Linked DNA regions of Homo sapiens: region 2 is linked to region 1. Evidence: promoter capture Hi-C in human tissues and cell types (Jung and others, 2019). All regions are on one chromosome and are shown on one strand. Each heading gives the region's core, a stretch centred on a gene start or on the middle of the fragment in contact. The rest is flanking DNA. Distances are from core to core; before and after follow the strand shown. Region 1 holds the start of ZNF462 (zinc finger protein 462). Region 2 overlaps FSD1L (fibronectin type III and SPRY domain containing 1 like).

Evidence for each region. Contacts are between HindIII fragments. The study calls those that stand out against the background at their distance.
Region 2: a contact is called between a fragment that was not itself captured here and the fragment with the promoter of ZNF462 in region 1, in 1 of the 25 tissues and cell types used here (dorsolateral prefrontal cortex).

What each region holds. Positions count from the first base shown.
Region 1 is chr9:106,860,938-106,865,168 of GRCh38, reverse strand. It overlaps ZNF462 (zinc finger protein 462), which reads right to left and starts at 2,003. Exons shown (of 13, transcript NM_021224.6): 1 at 1,814-2,003. The HindIII fragment of the contact is 13,314 bases long and covers 1-4,231 here.
Region 2 is chr9:105,454,489-105,458,719 of GRCh38, reverse strand. All of the region lies in intron 1 of FSD1L (fibronectin type III and SPRY domain containing 1 like), which reads right to left. Among named protein-coding and RNA genes, the nearest start is that of FSD1L, 8.6 kb to the right of the region's middle. The HindIII fragment of the contact is 4,090 bases long and covers 474-4,231 here.

The DNA.
Region 1 (4,231 bases), core at 754-3,253:
ATAACTTGTGAAAGCACTCTTTGGTGGAGAAAAATCTGAGGAACCCTTAAAAGCCCTCATTTCCTTGCATAATGAATAGACAGTGAGGAACCACCACAAGGTTTCCCTCTGGAAAGAGAGAAGGAGTAGGCAAGCAAGCCTCCTCCTCCTCCAGCCATCACCAACAGAGCTTCAAAATGGAGACATCCATAATTTTATAAACACTTCTCATCTCAGCTTTGTCTCCTGGAAACCCGCTCTCCTCCATTTTCTGGTGGAGTTACAACATGACACGGCTTACCTGACTCAGTTCCCAGCTCTTAACCAAACTAGTCACTTCCTCCAAAAACCTGCAAGCAACCTCCAGAAACAAAACCAAAGCAAACCAAACAGCCAACACAGACACTCAGACACAGCCCCCGGGAGCCCTGGGAGAAAGCCCCAACTGGTTGGTCTTTCCCCATCCCAGACGCGTGCTTAAAAATGAAACTTTTTTTTTTCTTGGTTGGGGAGGAATATAAAAGGAACTCCAGGCAGCCTCCCTCCCTCCCTCTCTGTAGGTTAGAAGCCACAATGAAAAGAAAACGAGGGTTCCTTCAGGAATGGTGAACAGCCTGGAGAATGAACGTGAGAAGGAGCTTTGTGTTTTGGAGTCTGGACTGGAACCAAAGCAGACAGCTTGCAAATGGAGGACAGGGAGATAAAGAAAGGGAAAGAGGGGCTGCTCCAATGGGGGGCGGCTGCGGCTTCCCCTCGTGCCTGGAAGGAGGGCAGACCCCTGGGAACTGCACCAGGAGTGAGACGCCCCCCCAGGCCCCTGCCTTCCTTTCTCCCTTCCTCAGAGGAGAGCCAAGCGTGTGTAATGGCTTCTCCTCTCCAGAAACCGTTGTCCTCCTCCACCAGACGCTTCTGAACCTCCAGCCTGGAGACAGCTCCTCAGCCGCTCCTGAACCTGCGCCCCCCACCCGGCCGGTGCCCCCCGCTCCTCGCCTCTCTGTTCACCAGCAGCACCGGCACCAGCAGCTGCAGCAGCCACCCCCCGACACATCCCGACCCCGCATCCCAACTTCGGGGAGAGGGAGAGAGAGAGAGAGAGAGAGAGAGAGAGAGAGAGAGAGAGAGAGAGAGAGAGAGAGAGAGAGAGAGAGAGCCAAATACCTGAGGAAGAGGGGGGCTGCCAATCCGCACGGCTTTGCCATCGGGCGGGGGACAGGCAGACAGAAGGGGGAAAGGAAGGAGAGGGACAGAGAAAGAAAGAGGTCAACCCGCTCAGGTCGGGGCCGCTCGCACGGAGCTCTCCCTCCTCTGACCCTCGCTCGCTCCCTCTGGCTCTCGGCTCAGGTCTCCGGCCTCCCGCCCTCCGCCCCCCTCTGTCCCTACTCCTGTCCCCACACTCGGAGCATCCGTCCTAAGCCTCCAGCTCTCTTCTCACTCATCTTTCATTTTCTCTTCTCTTCATAGAACTACACGAAATTAATTAAGCCACCGCGCTCACTCCCCCCAGCAGGAGCAGCAGCCAGCAGGAAAAGCACAGCCACCTCCACTGCCACCACTACCACCTTCTCCTCCTCTTCCTCCTCCTCCTCTTCCTCCCTCGCTTCTCCTCCTCCTCTTCCTCCTCCCCCTCCTGCTCTCCCTCCTCCCCCTCCTCCTCTTCTCTCTCGCTTCTTCTCCTCTTCCAACAGCCAGTCCATGCAGGGGACTTCCTCTCCTCCCCGCTCCTCCAACCCTCCTTGGCCGAATGAATGAGCGCGTTTGTGCCTCCACCACCCCGCGCTCTCTTCCCCGGAGCACTCGGACCACCCCGAGGTGGTTGTTAATTGCAGTAACTTACAGAAGAAGCGTCCCGGCGCCGGGAGGTGCTTCGGGTTCTCCAGCCCCACCGCCTCCTTATCCTCTTTCTCTTTCTCCTCTTCCTGCTCGGGTTATTGTTGTGGAAGTTGTTTGGGAGTCTCATGTGCTTCTGCCGGGTCTCAGCAATGGAGGATCGCCATCTTCCCTGCCTTCCTCGGCTCCTCAGACTCGCTGCAGCTGCAGATGACCTGAGATATCCGTCTCTCTCCCTCTCTCTCTCTCTCCCTCCCTCCCTCTCCCTCTCACTCTCTCTCTCCCCTCTCTCTCCTCTTCTCTCTCCTCTCCTCCCTCTCCCTCGCGCGCTCTCTCTCTCTCCCTCCCTCTGTGTCTCTCTCTGAATAATGAGCAACCAGGGGGAGAGAGAAAGCAAGACAGAAAGAGAGAAGGAAGACAATCTTCTCCTGCCACACAAAACGCCGGAGCACCAGGGGGTGCGCGAAGCCTTTCTAATAACAACAACAACGTGCAGCAGAGAGGAAGGAAAAAAAGAAAGAAAGAAAGAAATGAGGAAAAAGGCTAGGGGAAAAAAGAGGAAGAATTATCCAAGAGCTCGAGAAGAGCAGAAGGAGAAGCTGGAGGAGATGCTGAGGCTGCTGCTGCTGTTCCCCCTCCCCCCTGCTGAACCCCAGAAGGAGGCAAGGTGGTTGCAAAGTTAAGGCTGGGACATTGTCTTTGTCACTCAGAGCCAGGCCAGTGAGATGCAAGAGGAGGAGGTGGCGGCGGCAGAGGAGGAGGAGGTGGTGGTGGAGGAGGGGGAGGAAGAGGAGGAGAAGGAGGCAAAGGAGAAGGAGGCAAAGGAGAAGGAGAAGGGGAAGAGGGAGATGAGATGATGAATAAAGACCTGCGGAGAAGGCGGTGCGAGGAGCGCGGCCGCCGGGCCGAGGCGTGCGCGCTCGCGTCCCGGTGGCGCCCGGCAGCCCTGGCCCGCAGAGGAAGCCCCCGGTGAGGACCCTGCCCGGCAGCTCATAGCGCTCCCAACGTCAGCCCTGCCCGAGGCGCCGAGCCCGAGCCCCAGAGGGTCCCTTACTTGCATCCATCTAGAGGCCAACCTTTGCAAAGAACATACGTGGGGAACTGGAGGTTGCAAGTATAAACCCAGATCAACCACGTGGGGCTTTTTAATCCCTTTCCAGCTTGCGGTGTGAGTATTTCCAGTGAAAAGCTCAAATTGTCCATTACTGGCACGTATTTTGAAGTCTTCTCTCCTGAAATAAAGGCTCATTGTGCGTTTTATTTCTTTCCTGATATGGAAGGTGGGGGGGTGGAGGAGGAAAAGAGCCCATCATTCCGAGCTTCGGAACCACCACTTTCTTTTCCTAACTTGTGAAATGTTTTGACTGCGCACCAAAAGAAAAAAAGAACGCCTGCTTAAATAACTTTACACCCTCCAGCCCCGCGTTGTTTGCACTTTCTGGCTGATCATCTAAAGGCTCGGAAAGTAACAATCAGCGCTCTTAATGATAAGGTGTCATGGTGTTGAAGACACGCGAGCCAAGATGAAGCTTTCACACCTTGAATTTTTATTTAGTGTAATCTCTCCCGTATCATTCTGAACTATCTCTTTTGCAAAGGAGTGGTTCCCCCCCTCCACCACCAGGTCGAAAGTCTCCTACGGTTTTAATTGGACTGGGAGCGGTGGGGGTTGGGGATGGGGGTTCTACAGTATCAAAAAAATCAATGCAGCAAGTCAGGAGCAATTGAAGTTCAAGGGCATGGGCTGATTGTACCATTTCTATTTCTTGGATCTTGGAGTTGGACATCAACAGCCTCAGGAGAGAGAAACGCGCAGCGCGCGGGGCAGAAAGAGACCTTAATTAAAGTTTCTTTTGTCCGCGTCTGAATTGGGGATGTTGCTGGATTCCTTTGCATTGAGGAGCGCGCATCCGGTGAAGGCGCGGTGTTAAGGATCCTGGGCAAGTCTGTCCTCTTTAAATACTCGCCCTTTCTCCTCCCTCCCCCCAAGCAACAGTCCGAGAAGATATATACCTATAAATCCATACAATAAAGGAAGAGGAGGAGACGCGCGCGGAGTTGGTTCCCATCCGATAGCGGGGCTTCATAAACAGATCTAAATCCTCATTTTCCAAGATTTTCCCGACCCTATATTCCTGAGCAGAATCTCTCACCCCGAGGCACGATTTCACCCACTTCCAGTCAACACTTCCTGCCCTTTTCTCCTCCCACTCACATTGAAAAGCTCGGGATCCCTAAAAGGGTGTTGATGGCGGGGGTGATAAATAAATAAATAAATGACACTCTACGCGTGCGGTGGAGAAGAAAGGAGGGGGAGGGAGAGGAAAGGCGAGGAGAGGGAAGAGAAGTAAGGAGACGAGAACAAGGCGCAGAAAGGACAGAGGCGAAAGGGGAACGGGAGTCACCGAGAAGAGAAAGAAGAAAG
Region 2 (4,231 bases), core at 1,269-3,768, 1.4 Mb after region 1:
GGGCTGCCAGTTCCTGATGGAATCCACAACCCTGAATAAGAATTTCCTTTATGCCTTTCAGTCAAACAAATGGTGCTTTTTCCACGCCCACCCATGGACCAATCAGCACATACTTCCTCCTGCCCATGGACCAATCAGCATGCACTTCCCCACTTTGAGCCCATAAAAACCCTGGACTCAGCCATCTATCAGGACTACCCATTTCAGGACTCCTCTCCACTGAGAGCTGTTCTGTCACTCAGTAAAACTCTCCACTGCCTTGCTCACCATCCAGTTGTCCATGCAACCTCATTCTTCCTGGACGCAGGACAAGAACTCAGGAACCGCCAAAAGGCAGGCGCAGAAAGGGCTGTAACACTTTCCTGGCCCACTTGCCAAGCTGCAGACAGGAGCAAAAGGGGCTGTAACATGTTCCTGGCCAGCTCACCAAGCTGCAGACAGTGACATGAACTGCAGGAGTGAAGAGTAGCAACACTTCTAAGGGCCTAGACCTCGGGATTCCCTGAGCCAGAGCTGTAACACTATAGCCCTCCCAACTTCCACCAGCATCAGGCGGCTGCCCCACATGACAGCAAGTGACAACGGGATTGGGCCAGCCTGGGAGCCACGGGCCCAAGCAAGGTGGCAGGACTGAACAGGCTGAAACATGCCCTGCCACTCCCACTGGCCAAGCTGCAGGTGGCAGGAACAAGAGAGGTGTAGCACCCCTGCCCCCGACCCCTTGGGGCTCTGCAGTTACTGGCATCTCTGAGTTTTCAGGCACCACTGTGTTCACTTCATCCAGACGCAGGCACCCACAGAGGAAGCCACTTGCAGTATGCTTGGTCCAGCTGCAGCCTCGCATGGAGCCAGTGACTGTGCCAGTGCCCGGAGCTGCCCGTATGGCCACAGCAGCCAGCATGCTAGGCTGTGCACAGTGGCCGGACCCCAAACTCACTCGCTCGCTCACACACCCCTCACTGCTCCATGCCTGGCTCGCCCTCGGCAGGTGTGGGATCCAGGCCAGCAGCATGAGCTAAGCACAGCCTGCCAGGCCAAGTGGGCAGAACAAGCCCAGCCGGCATGAGTGAAACTCAAGGAGAGACACTGCCAGCTACAGAGGTTTCTAGCTGGTTAAGAAACATCCAAAGTATCCTGTGACATTAGAATTATTACTACTATCTTAGTAAAAGTTACTATCATATCTCAACCTATATCTCAACCTTCACTGTAGCAAAATTTTTCTTAATCAGACTCTGGTAACAATCTTTCTCCCCAGTAATCAGTTCTCTATATACTTCAGCTAGGGTAATGATAGCATCACTCTTCCTGATCAGTATTCTTCAATAGCTTCCCATTGTACCTTGGATAAAACTGAAAATCTTTAACATGACCTATAAGATCTCAAATGATCTGTCCACTGCCTACCTCACCTGCTTCATCTCCCCAGACTTCCTCTCCCTTGTTACACTCCAGCTGCATAGCCTGCTATGAATTTATCTAATCTGACTTGCTTTCTACCTAGGAGCCCTCTCACTTATCAGTTTCTCTACCTATAACCTCTGTCCTAAAACATATACACAATGTACTGATAAAACAAATTCCAAAAATGTACTTATAGAATGAGCCCATGTTACATATAGTCATTTCATTTTTTTTTCTAATCAAAGCCTTATGGGTAAAGAAGGGCAAAGACAACTTTCATCTGCCCCATGGGATTCTATCAACCTTAAAGGATGCCTACGAAGGTCTCAGATTTTTATATCAGATCTCAAGCCTCCCGTTACCTTACAAACACTGATGGATAAATAGATAAACAGAGATGAATAAAGGCAATATAAATTATCTGAAGCTTATCTAGAAAATTATATTTTATAAGATTCATGTGGTGACAACTAAAAGTTCTAGGTGACACAGGTCTGAAGACATGTTTTGACAAATGCCAATTCTGCTAGATCATAGTAAAATATATGAGATAAGTCTCCATAGGAAGTCTGCACAGGCAATCTCAGCAAATGTCTTTTGGTGATGTAGCACAATTACCAGGCCCTCATAACAACAACAAAAAAATACAATGATGTGACTATGGATTTAGACTAAGGCAACTGCTACACCAACAAGAAAAAGCATCATATACACCCTAGCCAAGCACAACTGCAACCACTGTTATGGAATGAATCAAAGTAATCTAAGATGTACAAGATATAAGTTACTCTCTTCAACGCAGCACAGCTTAAAGTTATGTTTATAATCATTATCAATCAAGTAAAAGGATAATCAATAGACTGAGCAAAAGAGCACTTTGGTACTCTTAAGTGCCAAGTACTATCTTAAGCTCTATACATATTATTAATTCATTTAATCCTTTCAAGAATCCTATGAAGTAAGTTACTATTATTATCCTCATTTTCCAATGAGGAAGCTGACGCATGGAGAAGTTAAGCAGCTTGCCTAGAATATCAAAGCTAATATGTCACACAGCCAGGATTCAAATTAAGACAGTTTGATTCCTAAGTCTATGCTCTTAAAGGACTACACTGTACTACCTAATAAAACAGAGATCAGAGGTTCATGAAAAGGTCAGAACGGCTAAAGGCATCCAAAGGACTAAGATTTTACTTCAAGATTAGAAATCTGGAACTGATCAACAATCTGGAAACCTGGAACTGATCAACAGGTTATAACCCCAAATCAGAGGGCATCAGCATCCATGTGGTCATAATTAGAGAAATGCTGACATATGGGTTTCCCACCAGCATCTTCTCAGAGGAGGAGAAGACTTCTGAGTCAAATTCTACAGTAGTATTCCAAAAAATCAAGATACAAAAATCTAGAGCCCCTGCAAATACCACAAATAGATCTATAATTTAAGGGGGTCAAACTATTATTATAGCCAATTTAGTTAGTATTTCATTAAGCACCTTCTATGTGCCAGGCACTGTGCTGCTAATATGGAGTAACTTTTTAATCATCAAATCTGATAAAAAAGTAGTATGAGTCTTCACATTTTATGGTTGGAAAAAGGAAAGATTCAAGATGTTAAGAAACTTGTTTTAGGTCACACAGCTATCAACTGGCAGTCATGATTCAAATTCAGGAGGTTGTCCCCAGAACCTCTGCTTTTCAAATCCAGGAGGTTGCCTCCAGAGCCTGTACCCTAGGCTGCCTAAACTGTTGGGGATTGTATGAAATAATCATAGGGTTCCTGCAACCAGAGGAAAGGGATTGATCAAATCAGCATGTAACATTCCTGGAAAATGCCCAATAATGCCACCAGAAATGATGCCACTTGCATCATCCCACACATAGACCTGTCCTTTGAATTAGGTGACTTCATGCTGAACCCCTCCATCGACTCCAGTGGGGATGGCACCAGGTTCAAGAGGCTGAAGAAACCCAGAGCCACCAAATGAGGCATGGTATTTTATTAAGGGATTACATACAAGGGAGAGAGTCCAGTGGTGGCAGGCTGAGCAGGAGAACTGCCTTATATACAGAAAAGGTCCAGTGGCAGTGGGCTGGACAAGGTAACTACACAGCCCAGTGAAGCTCAGAAGACACATTCAGGTGAGTCTGCCATACAGGATCATTCTAATAGTATGCTTAAACTACTGCTGTTAGGTAGGTTTACCATACAGTGATAAAGAGCGGAATCAAGAAAGCGCTATCCAGCTGTTAGCTAGATAATCAGAATCTCACCAGTTATTTTAACAAAAGTATCATGCTCAGATGTGATGCAAGAAGGTGAAAAAAAGAGAACTGGGAAATTCAGGAATCTAATCATAATATACCTAAATGATGGAAGGCTACACCCTCTCTAACAGTGAAACAGTTGAGAACACTACCTGTACACAGATGTAACTGAGACAGCCTACAATCAATTCTGATTGTCTAGCTTACCAGCTGAGAAAAAGTCTAAATGCTAGTAAAAGAACTGGCTGGGGAATGCTGCCTTTCTGCCCTGAACCCAGTTTAAGATATCACAGCATATGAGGAGGTAATCTCCCATCTAGGATTTGAGGAAAATAAAGCACACCAGAGGATAAAGAAGCCTTAACCATGTGCAGTGGCCTTTGAACTGGCTGTTTTACCCAGTAAAGTCAAGGAGGCTCATAGTCGGCCAAAGAAACCAGAGGTCCTACCATTTAATGAAAGAAGGTGGCATTGGAGTGGAGATGCGAGTATTAGTATAAACTAACAACCCTTCTCAAGGGCAACTTGACAATATGTATCAAATAAAATTTTTGAAATA